Regions from separate parts of the Homo sapiens genome. Here regions 1 and 3 are each linked to region 2. Evidence: promoter capture Hi-C in 16 types of primary human blood cells and fetal thymus (Javierre and others, 2016). All regions are on one chromosome and are shown on one strand. The core of a region is centred on a gene start or on the middle of the fragment in contact, and the rest is flanking DNA. Distances in the headings are between cores, read along the strand shown. Region 1 overlaps EMC1 (ER membrane protein complex subunit 1). Region 2 holds the start of MICOS10-DT (MICOS10 divergent transcript). Region 3 has its middle 11 kb from the start of MRTO4.

What was found. Contacts are between HindIII fragments. The CHiCAGO score rates a contact against its expected background, and 5 or more counts as called.
Region 1: a fragment that was not itself captured here is called in contact with the fragment with the promoter of MICOS10-DT in region 2 in 2 of 17 cell types (naive CD8 T cells and naive B cells); the score reaches 6.2 in naive CD8 T cells.
Region 3: a fragment that was not itself captured here is called in contact with the fragment with the promoter of MICOS10-DT in region 2 in 1 of 17 cell types (naive B cells); the score reaches 5.5 in naive B cells.

The regions. Positions count from the first base shown.
Region 1 is chr1:19,235,752-19,239,612 of GRCh38, reverse strand. EMC1 (ER membrane protein complex subunit 1) reads left to right here. Exons shown (of 23, transcript NM_015047.3): 9 at 311-382; 10 at 756-818; 11 at 1,474-1,596; 12 at 2,375-2,471. All of the region lies in intron 1 of EMC1-AS1 (EMC1 antisense RNA 1), which reads right to left. Among named protein-coding and RNA genes, the nearest start is that of EMC1, 14 kb to the left of the region's middle. RefSeq lists a silencer at 3,734-3,861. The HindIII fragment of the contact is 1,117 bases long and covers 692-1,808 here.
Region 2 is chr1:19,594,444-19,598,101 of GRCh38, reverse strand. MICOS10-DT (MICOS10 divergent transcript) reads left to right here and starts at 1,270. Exons shown (of 2, transcript NR_135054.1): 1 at 1,270-1,392. It overlaps MICOS10-NBL1 (MICOS10-NBL1 readthrough), which reads right to left and starts at 1,123. Exons shown (of 4, transcript NM_001204089.2): 1 at 993-1,123. MICOS10 (mitochondrial contact site and cristae organizing system subunit 10) reads right to left here and starts at 1,123. Exons shown (of 4, transcript NM_001032363.4): 1 at 993-1,123. The coding sequence starts at 1,056. RefSeq lists a silencer at 701-910 and an enhancer at 1,031-1,330. The HindIII fragment of the contact is 2,967 bases long and covers 1-1,735 here.
Region 3 is chr1:19,261,247-19,264,860 of GRCh38, reverse strand. No RefSeq gene overlaps it. Among named protein-coding and RNA genes, the nearest start is that of MRTO4, 11 kb to the right of the region's middle. The HindIII fragment of the contact is 865 bases long and covers 853-1,717 here.

The sequences.
Region 1 (3,861 bases), core at 1-2,500, 360 kb after region 2:
AAAACTAGTGCCTTCCTTAGTCCAAAGGAAATATGGGGACATAAATGAGAGCTTCCCCATAGATAGTAAGAACAAGCAGCATGGGATTTAAGATTGACCTGTGCCTGCGTTGGAGGTAGGGAGAGTTCTGTTTTCAGCTGTAGATGCAACTGAGGCCTCCCTCTGCTCTTAAATGCCTGACCATTCTGCTCCAAAGTGGGGAGCACTTTCAACTCTAAGGCCAAGGGCCTTCCCTGGAGAGGTGACCCTCTGTAAGGCAGCTGGCTAGTACTGGTCCCATTTAGGAGCTGATGCCTTGCTTTTCCCCCAGACTGCCCTAGTGAGCTTTGCCACCACTGGGGAGAAGACGGTGGCTGCAGTCATGGCCTGTCGGAATGAAGTGGTGAGTATTGAGAACAACAGTCAGCACTTGGGATTTTCCTTCCTGGTCTCCACTAGGAACCCTGAAAATCAGAAGTCTGGGCACATTGACCTGGTCAGTTTGAACCCAGCGGGCAGGAGGCTGTTGAGAAGTGAGGTCTTGCCTCAACTATAGAGCTTTCTGCACACCCCATTTCTCCCCAGGAACGAGACCCTAATGTGATGACCTTACTTTCATATGGGGCTATTAAGGGTTGAATAGGCTTTGTGGGCAGGGGTGAGAAATGAGCTTTGTCTTCTCTCAAGTGCTAAGAAGACAAAAACAAAAGCTTCATTTCAGTGACTGGGAAGTGACCCTTTGGCTGAATTTTCTCCTGTCCTTCTCTTTCTCATAGCAGAAAAGTAGCAGTTCTGAAGATGGGTCAATGGGGAGCTTTTCGGAGAAGTCTAGTTCAAAGGTATGGTGTGGCACTGGGCAGTATGCCAGACCTAGAGACGCAGGAGGCCACCAAAGAGAGTTGGGGGAAGAGCTTTGGTTAGGAGCAGGTCCTAGAGTTCCCAGCTTCAAATGAGGTTTCCTAAGTACTGTAAATTAAATGATGTTTCTCTTAATCTCATTTTACCGGGAGATTAGGAGGTAGAATCCCTAGAGTCTGTTTCTAGCCACTTTCTCCTCTGGGCCTCAGCGTCCCCATTTCTTTTGGGATCCTGGCTGGCACAGTTGAGTAGTACTCTGTGCAGTTACCCTGTAGCAGAGGCATGAGCCCCTGGCTGGAGGCATAGGTTCCTGCTGTGGCTTCCATCTAAGCGTTTCCCTGCCTCCTGTCTTGCTCAGTCTTACCTTGCTCAGCCCTACCTCTCTCTCAGAAGTCTCTGCTACTCTGTACTGGCTTCCAAGACAAGTATGGTAGTTGTAATTTCATTTATTTACTCAGGCACCTTATTTCTGCCTTAGGATTTAGCTTGCTTTTCTCTTTTATTCTCCTTTGCATATATTTCCCCTTCTGGCCTGGCTCCTTCTCTAGGGTATTTGCCCCCAATCCTTGGACTTCCTTTGGTGGGCTTTGCTTTCGGGGGATACCTGTAGTTGACACGTGCTGTCTGTACTCCTAGGACTCTCTGGCTTGCTTCAATCAGACCTACACCATTAACCTATACCTCGTGGAGACAGGTCGGCGGCTGCTGGACACCACGATAACATTTAGCCTGGAACAGAGCGGCACTCGGCCTGAGCGGGTAAGGCAGAGCCTTTCTTTGCAGACTGTCCTGTGGGCTTCTCAGCACATGGCTTCCTTTCCTCAGGGCCAGGTCTTAGCCATGGGGCTTGGATTAGGCTCTCTAAACATGTGTTCTAGTGCTCTCTGAGCCACTGACTTGTTAGAAGTCACAGTAAAGGCGGGTATTATTTATGCCAGCTCATCATTGTGCACCAGGGACTGTTCTAAGCTTTTAACTTACACATTAATTGATTTAACCCTCCAAACACTCTCATGAAGCGGTTGTTCCTGACCTGGTTTTAAAATGATTCTGTGGCCTGGTGGGATCGAGTACCATAGCCAGAGTCACGGAGCCAGTAAGAGGTGTCACTGCGGTTCAGATTCAGGTCTAACCCCACAGCCTGGACTCCTCATCACTACCCAGTATTGCCTCTGTGTGCATCTGGTTGTGTTCCTCAGCTGCTTGGGCTGTGGCTTCTTCGTTTCTAAAGCGGAAAGTCTAATCCCGGCCTCCTGCTCACTTTGTGGGGTGTGATTAGAGCATGGATGAATGGCGTGGTACCCGTGGAGTACTCAGGTTCTTCCATGGAAAGGTCTGGGAGACCCCAGCATCATTATGTTGGCTCCTAAGAATATGTATCACTTACTGGCATCCAGATAATAGCTACATTGTTTAGACATCAAATAATGCCATGGCCTGTACCTCTGTTAAGTCCAGGCTTTGACTCCTGGGGTCTGGTGCTCTCAGAGGCATTTGGATCCTCACTGACTACACCGGTCTTGACTGTGGCTTATAGCTGTATATCCAGGTGTTCTTGAAGAAGGATGACTCAGTGGGCTACCGGGCTTTGGTGCAGACAGAGGATCATCTGCTACTTTTCCTGCAGCAGTTGGGTAAGTAGACCTCATTCAACCCATTTTTTTATTTCCCCAGGCCTTCCAATGTGTTCCAATCAGACTGTTTTTTGGGAGGCTGCAGGTTTCTGGAAGAGATTCAAGTGGAGTGTGCCCTGAGTGTTTCGTTCATAGCCAAATGTCACCTGCTTTTTTTTTTTTTTTTTTTTTTTTGAGATAGAGTCTTGCTCTCTTGCCCAGGCTGGAGTGCAGTGGCATGATCTCGGCCCACTGCAATCTCCACCTTTCGGATTCAAGCGATTCTCCTGCCTCAGCCTCCTGAGTAGCTGGGATTACAGGCGTGTGCCACCACGACCAGCTAATTTTTGTATTTTCAGTAGAGACAGGGTTTCCCCATGTTGGCCAGGCTGGTCTCGAATTCCTGACCTCAAGTGATCCGCCTGCCTCGGCCTCCCAAAGTGCTGGGATTACAGGTGTGAGCCACCGTGCCTGGCCTGTCACCTGCTTTTTTTTTTTTTTTTGAGACGGAGTTTTGCTCTTGTTGCTCAGACTGCTGGAGTACAGTGGCATGATCTCAGCTCACTGCAACCTCTGCCTCCCAGGTTTAAGTGATTCTCCTGCCTCAGCCTCCCAAGTAGCTGGGATTACAGGCATGCACCACCACGCCTGGCTAATTTTGTATTTTTAGTAGAGATGGGGTTTCACCATGTTTGTCAGGCTGGTCTCAAACTCCTGACCTCAGGTGATCCACCTGCCTCGGCCTCCCAAAGTGCTGGGATTACAGGTGTGAGCCACCGTGCCTGGCTCTTTTTTTCTTTTTTGAGACAGAGTTTTGCTCTTGTTGCCCAGGCTGGAGTGGAATGGTGTAATCTCAGCTCTTTGCAACTTCTGCCTCCTGGTTCAAGCGATTCTCCTGCCTCAGCCTCCTGAGTAGCTGGGATTATAGGCGCTAATTTTGTATTTTTAGTAAGAGACAGGGTTTCACCATGTTGGCCCAGGCTGGTCTCAAGCTCCTAACCTCAGGTGATCTGCCCGCCTTGGCCTCCCAAAGTGCTGGGATTACAGGCATGAGCCACTATGCCCGGCCCCGTTACCTGCTTTTGAAGAATAACTTGGCATTCTCGGTGGGATACAGAACTTTCCTCCTTTGACCTATTGATTCCAGCCCCTTGCTCTGCCATTTCTCCTTTTATGCAAGAGCTTGTAGTAATCCCTGAGTCAGCGAGAAGAGTCTCTCTAGAAAATCTGGGAGACAGGCTTAGCTTTTGTTTATTTATTTATTTATTTTTTGAGACAAGGTCTCACTGTTGCCCAGTCTGGAGTACAGTGGCGTGATCATAGCTCACTGCAGCCTCAATCTCCCGGGCTCAAGTGATCTTCCTATCTCAGCCTCCTAAGTAGCTGTGACTACAGGCGCTCGCCACCATGC
Region 2 (3,658 bases), core at 21-2,520:
ATGGGGCAGTGACTAAACCAGAAAACATCCCTGCTCTCATGGAGCTTACAATCTTATTCCTCAATGTTTTCATTCAAAGACACAATCCTAAATCCTCTTAAATACCCTAAGATTACCACACAAAAATATCACATTTGGGTAACAAAAATTAGCATCGAAGAAGGAACATGGGACTTGACCCCAGAAAAGCTGGGTAAAATCCCTAATTTTGCCATTTGTTAGCTGTGACCGTGGGCAAATTCCTTCACCTGACTCTCCATTTCACGGCCTGTAAAAAGATTATTTCGCACAATGAAGACAATATACGCTCAATAAACGAGTTTCCTTTCTCCTCCCCACCATACAGTGACTTCATAATTTGTGCCGTCACTGAGCACGTGTTAAAGGACTACGCAGAAAAACTTAACGTGAACAACTTCTTACTTTCCAGCGCAATTCTCATTCCAGATCATCACCCCTCTAAGTTCAGGCCCCAGACTACTCTGATTCAAATAAATCAGGTGGCAAGTCGGGAATGACAGCAACTCGCATCAGGGCCTGGCGGTGTCTATGAAATGCTCCAGGTGACCTTCTCCAGAAGGCACTTTGGTTTCCGCCGGGGAGCAGCGTGGCCTCCTGAGCCGGTTCCCCGCCGCGTGCCGGGGAATGCACCACCCGGGAGGAGAACCCCGCGGCTCCGGCACGAGGGTGTGCCCCGACACTGTCTTCCACTCAAGAGCTCTGCGACTCTCCTGCCACCTGCCAACCCCGACCACCTCCTCCGGGCTGCAACTCCACCCCGCACCCGGGCTGCTGCTCCGGCTCCTCGGGTCTGTGCCCGCCGCCCGAGTGACCTCCCGCCGGGGCCCGGGCGGCTCGCCCTGGCCGGAGGGGCCGGAAAAGGCCGAGAGGCCTGACCTCCCGTGGGGCTTCCCTTCCTTCCTCCTGGGCAGCGCAGCCTGGAGCCAGCAGCTCTGCACCGGCCGGGCCTGCTGGGGCGAAAAGCCCCTTACCTATCTTCACGACCGCATCCGCCAGACACCGGTCCCACTTCCTGCCGAGCTCCGACTCAGACATGTTCCCCACCCGCGCCTCCAGCTTTCCTCTCGGCCGGCCCCCGCGCTCCGACCCCTGAAAGTCTCGCGAGAGCTGGAAACAAGTCCCAGGTCAGGAAGGCAGGCGCAGACGCTCCAGATATCGCGAGATGATCCGCTGCTTCCATCCCTTCCGGTTTTTTCAGTTGGTCGTCAAGGTGACGAGTTGTCTGGAGGCTCGAGGTGACCCTGACCTTGGGGCTGCGCCTATGGGTTTGCGAGGCTGACAGTTTCCTAGGCGTCACCCCAAGCCGTGACCAGGCCTTTCCTCCTCACCAAAGTGCGACATTGGCCCTGGAAATCCCCCGGGCAAGAGAGGGTACAGACTTGATTTATTCATTCATTAACGTACTCACCTTCACTTTCCCTACTCACTCTCTCATTCGTTCACTGGTTTCTTGCATTGGAATTCCCGCCTGAACCACTAACACCGAAACTGCTCTGGGAAAGATTACCTACCGCCAAATCAAATGGACTCTTTTCTGACCTCTGTACCGCATTCCACACAATTTTCCCTCCCTCTGATCCTCCCTGGCTCCTCTATTCGTTTCACTCCCGGTAACGCCACTCTTTCCTCTTCTCCCCATCTGCTGTTGTCTGTTGGTTTCCTCCAGGGCTGCCTTTTCTCTGCCAGCTGTTTAAGGACTGTTGGTTCGCAAGCTTCCATCAATTCTCTTTTCACTGTACAGACTCTCCCTGAGTAATTGCAAACACTGCCAAATTATATCTCCAGGTAAAACGTCTACCTCAGGCCTCCTATCCATGTATATATTTACACACCCACCCACACACACACACACATACACATACATACACAGGGTGCCCTCTGTATCTGTGGGTTTTGCATCCATGGATTTAACCAACCATGGACCAGAAACATTTTTGAATCAAATAAAAAATAATGCAAAATTTAAAATACAGTACAACTATTTACCTAGGATTTACATTGTATTAGGTATTATAAGTAACCTAGAGATGATTTAAAGTATATGGGAGCCAGCGCAGTGGCATGCGACCGTAGTCCCAGCTACTTGGGAGGCTGAGATGGGAGGATTGCTTGAGACTAGGAGTTCGACTTCATCTCTTTAAAAAAAAATAAGTAATTTTAAAAAAGGATATGTAAGCATGTGTGTAGGTTGTATGCAAATACCACGCCATTTTATATATGGGACTTGAGCATCCTGCATTTTGGTAACTGCGAGATCCTGAAACCAAATGCCCACAGCTATCAAGAGAGATTGTATATCCAGCCTACTGGCTAGTGTCATTGATTTTAGTCTTCCATCCTACCAACAAATAGAAATCTGACCACGTTATGCCTCTGATTAGAAGCTGTCAATGAAGGCCGAGAGCAGTGGCTCACACCTGTAATCCCAACACTCTGGGAGGCTGAGGCGGGAGGATTGTTTGAGGCCAGTAGTTCAAGACCAGCCTAGGCAGCATAGTGAGACTCCTGTCTCTACAAAAAATTTAAAAAATTAGCCAGGCTAATGTGATGTGTGCCTTTAGTCCCAGCTACTTAGGAGGCTGAGGTAGGAGGATCACTTGAGCCTGGGAAGTGGAGGCTACACTGAGCCATGTTCATGCCACTGCACTCCAGCCTGGGCATCAGAGTGATACCCTATCACAAAAGAAAAAAAAAAAAAGCTGTCAATGACTCCCATTCATACACTGGATCTATCCAAGCTTCAACACTGCACTGATTCTAGGAAGCCTAGTCAGATAGAGCTTAGAGCTGCCTTCCCCTTCTCATTGTCCCACTACCCTGCCTACCCGCATTGATTTCTCTATCTAGTACTGAAACATCTGGTTGTAGATATTATCTGCTAGTAGAACTAGAAGTTGCCCCTTCGTCTTCATACTTCCAGTCAGAGCACAATGCCTTGGATAGTAGGGTCTTCTATGAAATATTTGTTGAACTGAATTGAATTTATTCACCTATTTATTTGTTTATTTATTTATTGAGAGAGAGTCGCGCTCTGTTGCCCAGGCTGGAGTGCAGTGGCACGATCTCGGCTCACTGCAACCTCTGCCTACTGGGTTTGAGCAATTCTTCTGCCTCAGCCTCCAAAATAGCTGGGATTACAGGCGCCCACCACCACGCCTGGCTAACTTTTTGTATTTTTTTAGTAGAGATGGGGTTTCGCCATATTGGCCAGGCTGGTCTTGACTCCTGGCCTCAAGTGATCCACCCACCTTGGCCTCCCAAAGTGCTGGGATTACAGGCATCGTTCAACTATTTATTTGCAACTATGACAGCAAAACTCTGTTGTATCAGATCTTGCTACGACAGCCTCTTCCTTCAAGATAACTTCTATGACCACCCTTCCCTTCTCCTAGTTCTCTATTTTTTTAAATTATTCTTTCTTTTTTTTTTTTTTTTTGAGACAGAGTCTTGCTCTGTCACCCAGGCTGGAGTGCAGTGGCATGATCTTGGCTCACTGCAACCTCTGCCTCCCAGGTTCAAGAGATTCTCCTGTCTCAGCCACCTGAGTAGTTGGGATTACAAGCACGTGCCACCACCCCCAGCTAATTTTTGTATTTTTAGTAGAGATGGGGTTTCACCATGTTGGCCAAGCTGGTCT
Region 3 (3,614 bases), core at 36-2,535, 330 kb after region 2:
TACCCGGGAGGCTGACGCGGGAGGATGGCGTAAATCCGGGAGGTGGAGCTTGCAGTGAGCTGAGATCATGCCACTGCACTCCAGCCTGGGCGACAGAGCAAGACTCCATCTCAAAAAAGAAAAAAAAAAAAAAAAAAGACTGGAGAAGGAGGTGACATAGATTTTGCACATGGGAATTCATGAGGAGGGGAGTTCCTGAAACTTCAGGCTGCCATGGGCTGCCCTACTTGCTTCATTTCTGACCTGCTTGTTCCCAGTGACTGGGTTGGTTGGCATCACCAGTGTCTCAAATTGGGCCATTCTGAATACATTTCAGAAGCAACAGGAAGGTAAGAGTGCCAGGCTCCACAATTGTTTATGAACAAGTACATTTCTGCTGCATGGATTTTTAATTTAATAAGGCTGTTTTTACCATGGCTTTTTTTTTTTTTTTTTTTTTTGAGATGGAGTCTAGCTCTGTTGCCCAGGCTGGAGTGCAGTGGTGCAATCTTGGCTCACTGCAACCTCTGCCTCCCGGGTTCAAGCAATTCTCTGCCTCAGCCTCCCGAGTAGCTGGGACTACAGGCGCCTGCCACCACACCTGGCTCATTTTTTATATTTTTAGTAGAGACGGGGTTTCACCATCTTGGCCAGCCTGGTCTTGAACTCCTGACCTCGTGATCCACCCGCCTCGGCCTCCCAAAGTGCTGGGATTGCAGGCGTGAGCCACCGTCCTTACCATGGCATTTGTAAGTGTATGTCCACTGCAGAAACAAATTTCTATTCTCAATGTTGAGCTTTATTAACTGAATTTGAAATAGCATTCACAACAGTTAGATGCTTTCTCTCTCACAAAATGGATTTCCAAAAGCTTTACTCTGATTCCAAGAGTTGGATGGAAGACAGTTTATATATACAAGCTGGAAGCCACCACACCCAGTCTATTTCTTAAAATTTGGACAATTTATTAAAGTGATATGTGCCCATGGTTAAAAGCTGTCACTTTCCAAGTCTCATTCCTCAGAGGCAACTTCTAGAAATTCTTGCAGCTTTCTTTTTCTCTAGCAGTTACTGCTGCACTATGTCTAAAGTATACACTTGGCTGGGGGTGGTGGTTCACACCTATAATCCCAACACTTTGGGAGACAAAGGTGAATCGCTTGAGCCCAGGAGTTTGAGACCAGCCTGGGCAGGTCAGTGAGACTGTCTCTACAAAAAAATTTTAAAAACTAGCCAGGCATGGTGTCATAGGCCTGTAGTTCCAGCCTTAGGAGGCCAAGATAGGAGGATTGCTTGAGCTTAGGAGTTTGGCCTGGATATTAAAGCAAGACCACCATCTCTTATTAAAAAAAAAGCTACACACTTTATCGCTATTCCTTAATATATCAAATTTAGATGTCGTGTGTGGGCTGCTGGAAAGTTCCTGATCTTAGATTTACCAAATCCACACCTGCAAGGTTAATATTTGTGCACAATGTGATTTATTACTTCTTTTTGTTTTCTCCCCCTGGGAGGAAGGCAGAAACAAGCCAAGCTCCATGGAAGTGGTGCCAGTGCTAGTTTTGTTGAAATGGCCAAGGACTTAGGCAGCAGTGTCCAACATTTGGGTTCACCTTGTGTGCACTGCTGTGATTTACAGCCTTATTTGGATGATAAGGATGATCAGAAACCCCAAGGGTTTCTAATAATCCTTGCCATGTTCAGGAACCACCGTCCTAAGCGGAGGTTTTCTCAAGCTTTTCACACTGCAGGGCCCAGGCTACAGCCCTGGAGCATCGAGACCTGCTGGGTTTCATCCCATCTGTTCTTTACAGTGTGCAAAGCTGGCCAGGCCCCTTACTACCTTTATACTTGGCATTTAGCACATGGGGCTGGCATGGGGCATTTCCCTTCCTCACTGAGCAGGTGAGGGCAGGTGGCTCAGCCAAGGCCGCAGAGCCAGGATTGGAGATCAGGACTTGTCATGGGTCCTTGTGTCCCCCAGGGCACACAGGTGTGGTGCTGTAGGTGCTGAGGGGTCCTAAGGTGGCGGGTGTTTAACACCTGGTGAGGTTAAATGCTAGGGTTTTTTCTTCGAAATGGGGTCTCACTCTGTTGTTCAGGATGGAGTGCAGGGGCTCGATCACCACTCCCTGTAGCCTCTACCTCCCAGACTCAAGTGATCTTCCTGCTTCAGCCTCCAGAGCAGCTGAGACTAGAGGCGCACATCACTACGCCCGGCTAATTTTTTTTTTTTTTTTTTGTAGAGACAGGAGGTCTCCCTACGTTATCTTGGCTGACTTCTAACTTCCGGCATCAAGCAATCCTCCCTTCTTGGCCTCCCAAAGGGCTTGGATTACAGGTGTGGCCATCACGCCTGGCCAAATGCAAGGATTCTCGCCCACTGCCTCCCCTCTAGCCACCCAAGAACACGGATGAGGGGCCCAGAAACATGCATGCATTCTGATGCTCAAAAATGTAAGATGTCTACTTAGAAGCCATTAGCCCCTCAGTGCTTCAGGGACCTGGGTGCAGGCAACCGCCCTGAGATGACCCCTAGTACTGACCCCCGTGCAATACCCTCCCCCAACCCAGCTTCTGGAACAAGCACCACTTCAAGGCCATGGCCCTGGTGGAGCAGGTCCTGCAGATTGTGTATATAGCACCAGTGCCCCTGGCATGGCCTTGACTGTCCTGCGATGGACCACTCGCAAGCTGCAGGTAACCCAGCTGTCTCTAGATGCTCAGCTGCTTCTCTCAAATTCTGTGGGGGTGGGGAGACTGGGGAAGCTGCGAGGGCTATGCAGTCATTTGGTCACTTTGACCAAGAGGAGTTAAGTCCTTTTCTTCCTATGAAGGCTCTCCATGGCCCAGTTCTTTTGGGTGGGGTAAACCTGTTCTTACACAAATTACTTAAGCGGCCAGGTAACCAACACTAGTTATTGCGATGGCCATGTTAAGTATGGTCATCTCAGTTTTACATGAGGCAACTGGCTCAGAGGCAATTTCACTTGTGTAGGGTCCCACAGCTACACATGGTAGGGAACGAACGTGGGTTTGACTGAAACTAATGTTTTTCTTTTTGGGGGGACAAGGTCTTCCTCTTGTCACCCAGGCTGGAGTGCAGTGGCTTGATCATGGTTCACTGCAGCCTTGACCTCCAGGGCTCAGGCAATGCTCCGCTTCAGTCTCCCATGTAGCTGGGACCACAGGCATACACCACCATGTGACTAACTTCTGTATTTTTTGTAGAGACAGGGGTCTCACTACATTGCCTGGGCTGATCTTTTTTTTTTTTTTGAGACAGAGTCTAGCTCTGTCACCCAGGCTGAGTGTAGTGCTGTGATCTCGGCTCACTGCAAGCTCCGCCTCCCAGGTTCAAGCCATTCTCCTGCCTCAGCCTCCCGAGTAGCTGGGACTACAGGCGCCCGTCACCATGCCCAGCTAATTTTTTGTATTTTTAGTAGAGACGGGGTTTCACCGTGTTAGCCAGGATGGTCTCCATCTCCTGACCTCGTAATCCGCCTGCCTCGGCCTCCCAAAGGGCTGGGATTACAGGCATGAGCCACCGTGCCCGGCCTGAGCCTGGGCTGATCTTGAGTCTTTGGGCTCAAGCAATCCGCCCACCTCAGCATTCCAAATTGCTAGGATTACAG